Linked DNA regions of Homo sapiens: region 1 is linked to region 2. The links are contacts of gene promoters, found by promoter capture Hi-C in human tissues and cell types (Jung and others, 2019). All regions are on one chromosome and are shown on one strand. Each heading gives the region's core, a stretch centred on a gene start or on the middle of the fragment in contact. The rest is flanking DNA. Distances are from core to core; before and after follow the strand shown. Region 1 has its middle 74 kb from the start of DSC3. Region 2 holds the start of DSG2 (desmoglein 2).

What was found. The method cuts DNA at HindIII sites, captures the fragments that hold promoters and counts their contacts. A contact is called where the count stands out against the background at its distance.
Region 1: a fragment that was not itself captured here is called in contact with the fragment with the promoter of DSG2 in region 2 in 1 of the 25 tissues and cell types used here (aorta).

What each region holds. Positions count from the first base shown.
Region 1 is chr18:30,966,093-30,971,953 of GRCh38, forward strand. No RefSeq gene overlaps it. Among named protein-coding and RNA genes, the nearest start is that of DSC3, 74 kb to the right of the region's middle. The HindIII fragment of the contact is 3,254 bases long and covers 1-3,168 here.
Region 2 is chr18:31,495,147-31,501,086 of GRCh38, forward strand. DSG2 (desmoglein 2) reads left to right here and starts at 3,031. Exons shown (of 15, transcript NM_001943.5): 1 at 3,031-3,150. The coding sequence starts at 3,106. RefSeq lists enhancers at 2,421-2,560, 5,276-5,385 and a silencer at 2,761-3,230. The HindIII fragment of the contact is 8,335 bases long and covers 1-4,930 here.

The DNA of each region.
Region 1 (5,861 bases), core at 292-2,791, 530 kb before region 2:
GCCAGGAGTTAAAGTGGAGCCTTCGGGAGTTAGACAACACCTAGTTCACATCCCACTTCTATTTGTCATCAGGGCAACTTTCAGCAAATTTCTAAACCCCACTGTTCTCATCGATAGTGGAAAGACTTTTATCCACAGTAATAGAAAGTAAAATGAACTATTTTGACATCGTTTTTAATTTTGAGAGTAAAAAATTTTGAGTTTTCTCAACTACTCTTCTAAGAGGTGTGTCTGCTGTGACTTTCTTATCTAAAGAAGGCACTACTAATCAGTTTATGGAAGCTCTCAGAGGTGGAACTTGGAGGACTTAAAAACCTAATCTATACTGAAAGGAGTAACTGATGTAACATAGCATTTTGTTACACTTATTTATCAAATATAACAAATATTTACTGAGTACTTTCTGCATATTAGGCACTGCGGAAGATATTAAATTAGTCCTTGCCGTTAAAACATTAATATAGGTGGATAAAAAGGCATGCATTCACTCTTGGGTGCAATGTACACTATTTGGGTGATGGATACACTAAAAACCCCATATCACCACTGTGAAATATATCCATGTAACACAGCTACCCTCATACCCCTAAATCTATACACTTAAAAAGCCAATGCATGTAATAATTATACCTCATATTTAATACTTTATGCCAGATGATGCCTATATTGCATTAACTCTCATATCCACTCTAGAAGGTATTCATGATTAAAATCTTTGTACTGTAGATTTTTCATAATTTGAAGAGTGAAGTTTCATAGTCCGCTCAAAGGTGCCCAGCTAACAGGTGAGAGAAGTAGGATTCAAGCCAGGTGTTGTCTAACTCCCAAGACCCCACTCTTAGTGGCTCTCTACCAACTCTTTACAATCAAGGGATGATAGCTAAATGTCACCTGAGAGATGCACACCATTGATGGTGTAATAATCCTCCAATCTGACAGTCAGGCAAGAGCTAATTAGCTTCAGATAAAAACTGTCAGTCTTTTGATGCTGCAAATTCAGATATTTGGACACATCTGGTTAATTCACAGAACTTCTACTTTTCATCCAGATGGCTTGTCATCATAAATGTCATAATATAAACACAACCAAACTTGAACTGCTCAAGCTTTCCTAAATGAACCTCAAAGCACTCATTGCTCTTTCAGAAGTAAAATGTTGATTTTGATATGCTATCATCATCTTTTGTGTGGTGCCCCATAATTAAAAACTTTTGATGCTTCATTTCAGGACTACCAAGCTGGAAAATAGAAAGCTGTATTGATGAGAAATGTGGAAGTTTCTTTCTAAAAAATGGAGACAAGTGAGAAATATCACTGGTGTTACAGTCACCTCTGTAGAGTGGAGCTTCTGTTGATTCAAAGAATGCTGGCCTGCTCTAAGGAGAGTAAGACGGAAAGAGACCCAGACCCCAGTGATGGCAAAACATAACCTTCATAGGAGTAGTAGCAATGAAGTCTGTCCACTAGGTAAATCACAAGACAGAAAAGCTGTAAGATATTTTTAGCTGTTTTAGTGCCTGTGCCTTTCCGTAAAAATCTTAGTATTAATATAAGTTTGTCTATGTCTACACACACACACACACACACACACACACACAAACACAGATGCATGCATATGTGAGAACTGGAATTTGGATAGGAATTGCATTAAATCTATTGATTTGCTTTGAAAACTACCAAGTAAAACAACTTCAGTTATCAGTAAATACCGGTACTTAAGCAACACATACCCACTAACAAATACAGGTATCTGGAGAATGTGTTCCTATTCAGATACTCCACAGATTATATAAGGGTGAGCTCAGGCTTTGTCTCAGGAGTAAGACTGTATCATGATGTCATGTGTAAAGTATTCAGTAACCAATACGTTTTGTTTCCAGGTAGACAGCAATGATATGTAAACAAAATGAGTTTTGTCACTCTTTTTCAGATACCCTTTTTTTTTTTTTTTTTTTTTTTTTTGATACAGAGTCTCAATCTGTCGCCCAGGCTGGAGTGCAGTGGCACGATCTCGGCTCACTGCAACCTCTGCCTCCCAGGTTCAAGCAATTCTCCTGCCTCAGCCTCCCAAGCAGAGTAGCTGGAACTACAAGTGCGCACCACCATGCCTGGCTATTTTTTTTATTTTTGGTAGAGACGGGGTTTCACCATGTTGGCCAGGCTAGTCTCAAACTCCTGACATCGGTGATCTGCCTGCCTTGGCCTCCCAAAATGCTGGAATTACAAGCATCAGCCACTGCACCCGGCCTCAGATACCCTTTTAAGAATTGTAGGCCATACATCTCATGGAAATTGAATGGTAATACCTGCCTGCATTCATACTCTTGTAGAGCTAAGACCAGCATGACTTTTTCTGTCCTCTTACTTCTTTGGAGAGGAAACCGACATCTCAGCTAATAGTCATTTATTTTACACTGATGAATTTTAAGCTTTTATCCAAATTCATCATAATTAGAATCAGATAATAGAGTTCTGTGTGAGGCACCAGTAGCGTCCTTTAGAAAATCAAGCGGATTGTAATTAAGAATTGATGTGATACTTGGCAGAACCACAGAGTCTTCTGGGTCACTTTCTGCATGTTCTCTGTGAAGAGCCTTCACAGGAAGCAGCTGGAGCTCCAAAAGGACATTTGACTGGTAAATTGACTTGATTGATTCAAATTTGATTACATACTGGAAACACATTTAGTTCAAGTTAAGCACATTAATATCTAGCAGTTAGAATAAAGACCCAATTCCTTCTTTGTTATTCATTAATAAAACTTAATTACTTCAACAAAACATTAATGAAGAAAAAATATTGGCTTGCATAATTCATTTGGAAAAATTAATTAATTATTTTATTAAGGGCAGCCTGTTCCACAAAGTAATTACTGAGGCTTTGATGGAGAATTGCTTTATGTTATTTACTTAGTAAGTGGTTGTTTACCTTTTTCATCTGTTATGTATATAACTTTTTCCTCCTAGAGGGAAATTAAATATAACCTGAAGTCATGATGGTAACTATGTACTTATAATTGATAAGATGACTGCATTTTAATATGATGTTTACTAAATTCAACCTGTATTCCAAAGATAGAAGGCTTATTTAGTGGCAATATTCTTCCCAGCTAGATTTTCAACACAGTAGTATTTAACAAATAATGTCCTCATTTAGTAGGTAACTAGAAGTTATAAATGAGGGAAAATAAACTTTAGCGGGTTTGTATCTCAGCTTTCCTTTCAATCAGACAAAGCCATGGTTTGTTAATACTTTAACATAAAAGTGCCAGGAATAAGTATTTCATATGAAAATTATAATAATTAACGTTTTCTGAAATGTAATATCCAGGGCTGTATGAATGAGTAATTAAACATAAAACTGAATCAATAGTTCAGAATCCTTTCTTTCAACTTATTTCCTTTATGAGTTTGAGCTACACGCTAAACCTCATCATAGCTATGTAAAATAGAACTATCAACAGAAAACTTCCTGGTATATACTAATGACTTTAATTGGTTTCACAATTAATACAATGACCAATATTAATATTATTTAAGTTAATTGTTAACATAGTGTTTTAAAATTACTTTTTCATTAAATGCAACTGTGAAAGAGCGAGTCATTTGTTTTAAATTATAAATAGGTGATGAGAAGCTATCCTTCTTTTAGAAGCTAATTCATTATCTGCTGTGAATAAGTGAAAGTATTTCTACATTGCATTGCCTAAAAGAGACTTTCATTCCATTACAGGGTAGATTATTCTGCAGGTAATAGCAAGAACACTTGCATAATAGCAGCATGTTTCATTAAGATAAAAAAAGATAAACCCTGCAGTAGTGGCATTCCAAAATAAATCAGCCCAGCCCTGCGCTGATCAGCATTCGCTTTTTCATTACTATGTGGATATGATGGATATTTTTCAAAGCTTAGTTTAGACAAACTGTTCAGAAAGGAATGAGTTCTCCTGATCAAATGAAAATTAAGGTGAAAATAAATGTCCTTCCTCCCTCCCGCCATGGAAATATGTAAGAATAAGAGACAATTATTTCTCAGAACTGTTAAGTCCTCTCAGGATTTTTCTCCTTCATACATTATGCAGCAACTATTTCAAACTCAGCCTATCTCTGAGGGGTGGAAGATAGAGAAAAATAAATGAAAGAATGCCCGTGAATGTCATTCTTTCTAGAGACAGAAGGCACATATCTGCTTGAGTCTCTTTTTTCTATTATGCCACAGAAGCAGATGGCTCAAACCATTTTTTTAAACATTGGATTTCTCCACTTTATTCATTTCTCAGGTAACCACAGGATGGCAGCATAGGACGATAAATCAAAATTGATTGCTTAATTCAAAAACATCCACCAGCGGTTATTAATCAGACTTCAATCCTTTCCTGCCTAACACATGGAAATGGTGGCAAATTCATTCATGGGGAAAGTGTGTGTGATATTTAGTTCTCCCCGTGTGTGTGGTTGCAATGACACCTCACCAAGAAATTTCTCAATTTTAATCCAGTAAGACGGGCATGACAGAATCTGTCTTTCATGCTGTAGTATCCTGTAGCCTCACAGTTTTATCAATCTGAACACGATTTGTAGTGAGAAATATTATAGCTTTAGAGAAGATGTAAAAGATCTATCCATGACAGCCTTACAGCTTCTTTTTTTAGGAATACCCAGTTTCTCGTCTCTGCTCCCATTTCCTTCATTTATAATGATAAAATTAAAATGTGCAAAAATCCATTCTGATTATATCAAGTTATTTCGGCTCATTAATATAGGATTTTTTATTTCCCCATTATTCACTGCAGAACAGGATATAATTTATTTCAAAGCTGGATGAACTATCCAATTAATTTTAGGTACTTTTCAAAGTTTAAAAATTACAATCTTCTCAAAAATTACTTTGGATTTGAAATATCCATATTCCATATACTTTTTTAACTTTATGCGTATTTCCTGTTTCTTCATGTGGCTACAAATACTTCAAATGTTATTATCTGTCATGCTTAAAAATCCTCACTTAGAACAGTACTTGACCTAAAAAATGTTCCGTATGGAAATGTTTTATAAAGAGTTCCATTTGGGACGTTCTACACATTCTTCCTTTTGAAGAGAAGGGATATAGACATTAGTATCAGCCTTTTAAACCCTGCTATTAATATATGCTAATTTAGAGGATATAAACCAAAATGTTACTATTATTTTTCAGGATCCATAATATCTCACAACAGACATGTTGACATCACAAATACTGAACTTTCAATCTACTTTGTTGTCCACTCAGAATATTTGTTAACCAAAAAACCCCCAAAAAATCCAAAATTCCTGAAAGAATTTTTAACTCTATTTTTAAAGTTTCTCATATATTTTAACTGATGTGAATCATTCCATTTATTTTTAAACAATTTTTGTGAAGATTGTACACCATATAACTTTGACCTAACCATGAAAATGATTGAATTTATCAATATATATTGCCATCTAGTGGCCATTTCTTAAATCACATTTTGGATCTGAAAACGGAGTGGACATTTGCCTCAAAAGTGCCACACTGCAGTGATTACATCCAGAAAGATAATTTTAGAGTAATCTCTGAACTCAAACTAACTTATTATAATTTCATTAAGATAACAGTTCAATTTGTTAGGACCACTTTCTTTAGGAAATCTATTTGATTTTCATTTCCTTTATCCATCTTTTCAAAATTTACTGCATACATCTTAAGGGTAAATAATAATTAACCACTGCTTCTAAGAGGTCTAATGTTAGACTGCCTTTGAACTGCCTACCCATATACATTCCCACTTGGCTGTTTACATGCAATTTAATTTATAAATGTTCTAATCATTTCAATTTGATGATAGTCATACTGCCTTT
Region 2 (5,940 bases), core at 1,781-4,280:
GTGGTATAATTGATAGTGCTTACCGGGGAGAGTTAAAGGTCATTTTATACAATACCACTCCAGATTCTTTTGCTATAAAACCTCAGATGCAGGTTGCTCAATTGTTAGTGGAACCTTGTCAGCAATTAACCCCTGAGGAAATCTGCCCCAACAGAGGCTACATGCAGAACTGGGGGATTCAGATCCTGGAGCCAAAATCCTGGAGCCAAAATATGGGTACAGCGTCCATCAGGTCCCACCCTTAAGACTGGTGACCTTGTAGCTATAGGAGCAGAAAATGAAGCACACTACAATTTCCTAAAGATGAAAAACAATATCATGTTCCCCTCTGTTTTTGTTATCACATGGAATAACCTATCTACTAATGGTCAGCACCTGTGTCTTTGTGTCTGACGCCAAGATTAAATTCATCAACTGGGTAGCCACCGCTGCAGAGGAAGCCAACCACAGTCAATGTTGGCTATGTGGGAATGAGCTACCTTGGAGAATCCTCCCTGCTAACATTTCTGAATGACTATGTCGCTACCAATGGGACCACAACAACAACACTTGCAATCCAACCTGGACTTTCTTTGACCAAACCAAGCCTTGGTACTCTGGGGTTTCTCCTGCCAGACAATTGTCAACACATGCTCCAAATCAACAACATTACCCCCAATGAAACACAATCTCTTTCCTACTTTTATAACACATTAGTACACTATGATTACAGTAACTCCATTGCTGTCCCCTGCGGGGCCCTCTGGGTATGCGGATCCTATGGGTAGCGATACCTGCCCCCATATTGGATGGGGATATGCACTTGGGGGTGGCCATTAATTCCATTCACCATCCGGGATAATATTCCCCTCCCCAGTAATCTAGATGCTTACAAACATCCCTGGTTAGAATGCATCCGACTCCGTAGGGGTGGTATCCTATCACAGCATTCTCCCCTGCAGCTGATACAATCCTGCTTCAGCAACAAATTAAAACATTAAGCTCACTTCTAAGAAAAGCTCTTAATGATAGTAGCACTGGATGTATGTTGTTATCAGATGAATTTGCTCAGCTATGTACTGTTGTGTTGCAAATGGAAAGGCATTAGATATGCTTACTGCAGCCCAAGGAGGGGTTTGCACCTTACTGCACTGGATGTTATGTGTATATCCCTGACAATTCTCACAATATTACTCTCCTTGCAAAGCCATGATGGGTGTGTTATTAATTTTGCTTTTAATTCTCCTGTGCTTACCCTGTATCTGTAATCTCTATCAACTATGCCTTCCCCATGTATCTGTAGGGGTATTTTCCTGCGATTGAGTATCAGATTGAAGCCGAATGTGGAGGAAAACTTAAATATTAAATTTGAACTCAATTGAACATGGACACAAACAATGGCCACCAAGTCCCAGAACAGGTGGTGTGAGCCCCTTGAGGAATTCATCGAGCGCTGTTTCAAATAAATCTCTATTTAAATTCCTATTTGTTAGTTATTGAAACACAACAGACAATCGCAAACACAAGTTGACCTTTTTGTGTTCCTTGAGTCCAGTCGGGAAGGGCCCTTGTGACTGGGTCTCATGCCAAACAACTTGTTACGATAAGAGCTAGGGTCCCAGACCATGAGGAAACTTCATGAGAATCCTCTGTAGTCTGGTGAGTGTAGTGTCCGACTCTGGAGCCCAGGCTGTTGCTTCCCGGTGTGGTGGTGAATCCTCCACAGTCTGGTGAGTGTACCTATAAATATATCTTTTCCTTCTCCCCTTCCCATTGCAATTTGCTTATTATATCATTTGCTTATTATATCCGCGTTGCCATTTAATTGGGATAAAGGTTGTTTACCCTTAAAAGTATGGTGTGTGTGTCTTTTCTTCTCCCCTTGCGCCTTTCTCGCACAGAACAATAGGCTCGTCCATTACTTTCAGTCGTTACATTTCTTGGAAGTTTCGTAATCCGGTGCTGATTCTAGTGTTTGGATGCCCATACTAAGTTTCTGCTTTTCAAGATGTCAATTTAACATCTCACCTCGCAATCACGTTGTTCTAATTTTAACAATTATTTATTGAACCCTTAAGTTCTAGACACTGCAGAATGCTTTACCTAAGATTTTCCAATTTCGTTCTCAAAACTTCCCCGTGCGTTGGTCGCTATTAACTCCATTTGACAGATCTGGAAACTGGGGCCCAGAGAGGCTAGTCCAGGCCACTCAGCTAGTCACTCTTGGAGCGGGGCCTCTGATCTAGCTAGTGGTGTAATAGAAATTGTAAATCATTTCAAAGAATATATATATTTCCCGTAACACCCTAGAGTTTTCTCCTAGCCCAAGAATTGTCCTTTTTGACCTCTGGTGATTGTTTCTCCTTGAGCCAGATAAGCTGCAAACCTGTTGGAAGCAGTGAAGGGCCATAGGGAAGAGCAGCCTTTGGGGAGACAGCCACCTGAAATTCTGCTCCACAACCTCCGCTCCAGGAGAGCGGGCCGAACGCACCGCGGTCGCAGCTTTCCTGAGGACACGGGTCCCCATGTCACTAGCGACACCTGCGCTCCGGGCCCAAAGCACAATCACAAAGTGCGGGACCTTTGGGCGGTGCTGGGCGGCCTGGCCCCGCAGCCACTGGGCCGGTTGGTCCCGCAGGACTCTGCTCCGTGGAGCTTTTGTCCTTGGGCCGGGGCCCTGCGACCCGCGCTACCCAGGTCGAGCCCCGCCAGGAGGCTCCCTCCTCCCGCCATTCTCCAGAGAGTAGGGGGTCGGGAAGGAGAGAACGGCGGGGCGGGGCCTGCCACCCACAGTCCCCAACCCAAGGACGTCACGGTCCCAGGTGCGAGTGCGAGCGGGCGGGAGTCCACCCCGCGCCTCCCTCCTCTGCTGAACTCCCCACCTCTGTAAAAGCGGCCCGGGCCGGCCCCCGGCTCCATTTTCTCGCGGCGGCCACACCTGGAGCCGCGCCTTTGGGTTGGGCTGGGCTGGGCCGCGCAACCGCCACGGGAAGACAGCCCTCGGGGCGGGGAGGGAGAGGGTGGCCGGGCCGGGGGGAGGCCGGGGCCAGGGAGGAGCCGAGTGCGCGCTCGGGGCAGGCGGCGGCGCGGAGCGGTGCGGCGGCGGGAGGCGGAGGCGAGGGTGCGATGGCGCGGAGCCCGGGACGCGCGTACGCCCTGCTGCTTCTCCTGGTAAGTGCCGCAAGCGGGACAGGGGAGCCACCGCCGGGGAGGGCGTCGGTAGGCGAGGTCTAGACCTCGCGACCAGACTTGCCCGCCGCCCTTGTGCGCGTTACCTGCCCGGCGCTCCTTCCTGCTGCCCGAGGGGGGAAAAGGGCCGGGCAGGCTGCGGCGAGATCCGACCTGGGGCTTCGGAAAATCCTCTTGGCTGGAGCCAGGAGAGTAAGTTGCGACCTATCGAAGTTGTGTTTTCCTTCCCGCGTCACCCAGGCCCCAGCGCCCTTTTCTGTGGTGTGTGGGTGTAGTGAGCCCTGGGGCGGGGAACACCATTGCTGGGGGTCGGAGGCTTTGTTGAGAGTCTCTGGGACGAGAAACGTGGAGGCAATAGGGAACAACCTCGCGCTTCTTCCACGTTCCTTAAATTTCCCTAGGATTCCCCAGCTCCTCTAGCCGCCGACACAAGCCAGTGAACTGGGGAAACCAGGAACATACTTGTATTCTTAGAGTGCAAAAAGTTGGCTAAAAATTTTTTAAAAAGGTGTAATTTACAAAGCTTAATTTTAAGTGGATCACCCACATATAGTTTTAACTTAAAGTTTATGAAGTTGGTGTTTCAAAAGTTTTCCAATATTAAAGATAATAAACATATGTAATAGTTTGAAGCCTTATTCATTTAAAAGGTTACAGAAAATGGAAGTGTAGCGCCCCCTCCCCCACGCCCCACCCCTCACTCCCGGAAACGACGTTCAGTCCCTGGATTTAGAGTTCTTTTGCTCAAATTGGATTTTAAACTGTTGGTTTTCTGTTTGTTTAAGGGGTTGCACGTATGTATCTCGCTTATAGGGGTTTACTAAAGGGGTTTTAATAAAGTGACAGTTATGCTGCAAATATAGGTGTGAGTTCACCTTCCAGAGAGTTCACAAATATGTGTTTACAGAGATTAGATGCAAAATCATACTCAGTTTTCTTACGTAATAATTAAAAATGCAAATACATTCACTATATTCAAAGTTCTAACTTCCAAAACATGAGCCCTTCTATCCTCGAGTTTTGGTGGGATGTGGAAGAAAATCGTGTGTGTGTGTGTGTGTGTGTGTGTGTGTCTCAAAACGGAAAAAGGCGTGACTGAATCCAGTCTAGAGATTTCCATGAACTCTCAGGTGGAAGAGCATGATAATTAGGGCGTCCAGGCCTAGCACACAGTTCATTTTCATGCTCTATTTATCCATTTCATTTTCCCCGTGTCCTTGAGGTAACTTTCAATGAAAATTCATTTTGTTGACAAAACTTTTCTAAGACGTGATCTGGGACGTCGTTTTTAGCCTCTGGGCTGGCAAAACAACTAATCCTGTCACCTTGATGTTTCCTTGTTTAAGGAGAATCCCAAGCTAATGTAACACCTAGCTTACTTTGAGAGTTACATATTCTTTCCATATATGAAAATAAATGACCTTTAATCTTCAAATAATGTAGCAATCAGGCCAATTTGTACACTCACAGAGTAGCAGGTAAGCAAATTAGGCATATCTTTCATTTTAGCAATTTGATACTTTTACCTTATTGGGCAGTAATAAACATCTCCTTTAGAAAGCGACTATAGCCAATGGAACAGGAGCAAAATTCTTGGACTGTTCTATGTATTTTCTATAAAACTTTCTGCAGTATAAATTTGAATATGTTTATTTTTGTCCAGAGAGTAGTGGGCAATGCAGCATTTTACCCCCAGTGTGTTTGCAGTTGCAGTTTTTTGGTAAAAAAAAAAAAAAAAAAAAAAATGGAAAGCAACTCATCTGACAGAAGTAGTTGCCAAGGAAACAGGTCCTTTATTGGAAGGAATATAAATTGTAGTCTGTTAGATCAGAGTTCAGTTGCAAATAACGGAATTTACTCTAGCTATTTAAAGCAAGAATAGGTTTATTTCGGGGCACTAAACTGACTACCTAAGTGTAGGAAGGATTGAGAAGACTGCCATTTGAGCTGTCAGTAATGACTTCAAAGCCACACAGCAGAGCCACACCGCTTAGGGAGCTGCTGCCTCTCCTGTGACCAGGAACTGCACTGCCACTCCCACAGTCTGAAAAACTGCTGTGATCAGGGTGCTACTTTTGCTACCAGCTGCAGACCCATGCATGCCACATCTGCTAGGATGCATAACAACATGGATGCTTGTACCTTGCCTCTTGGTGTTCACAAATCTAGTAGCTGGACACTAGAGCCATAATAAGATGACTACAAAGAACCCAGCTCCATACGTCCATATCTGCTTGCCAGGAGGCACAGAGCTCTGTTTCACTTCCTTCTTTCAAATCTCATGTAAATACTAATTGAACCCAAACCCCATTCAGAACGAAGCCTGCAGTGGAGTCTGTGACACATGGTCTTTCGCTTTCCTCAGCAGTGCAGGGAGACACACCAGAAGGTAGCTGTGTCACCCACATAGCTATCAAACATTTAGGCCAGCTGTATCAAAATGGGAAAAAGAAATAATTTTCTGAATAAAATCAGAGAATATTTCCTCTTCAAGGGTTCTTTGCAATCCATCAACTCCCAAATGGTTCACAGATAGAATTCAAAGAGTTCCTAGAGATGGCAAGGAATTAATTACATATATATTTTAACTAACTTCGGACTGAAATTTAGTATTTCTTTAAATTATGAGTGTGGGGAAGACACTGCACAGTAGTGTGAGCAGTAGCTGTGACTATCACAATAGAATTCATAAATACCTTTACATCTTATGGTGATCTCAAAATACCATTTATTCTGAACATCACTAATAGACTTTCTACTAGATCTTTTACT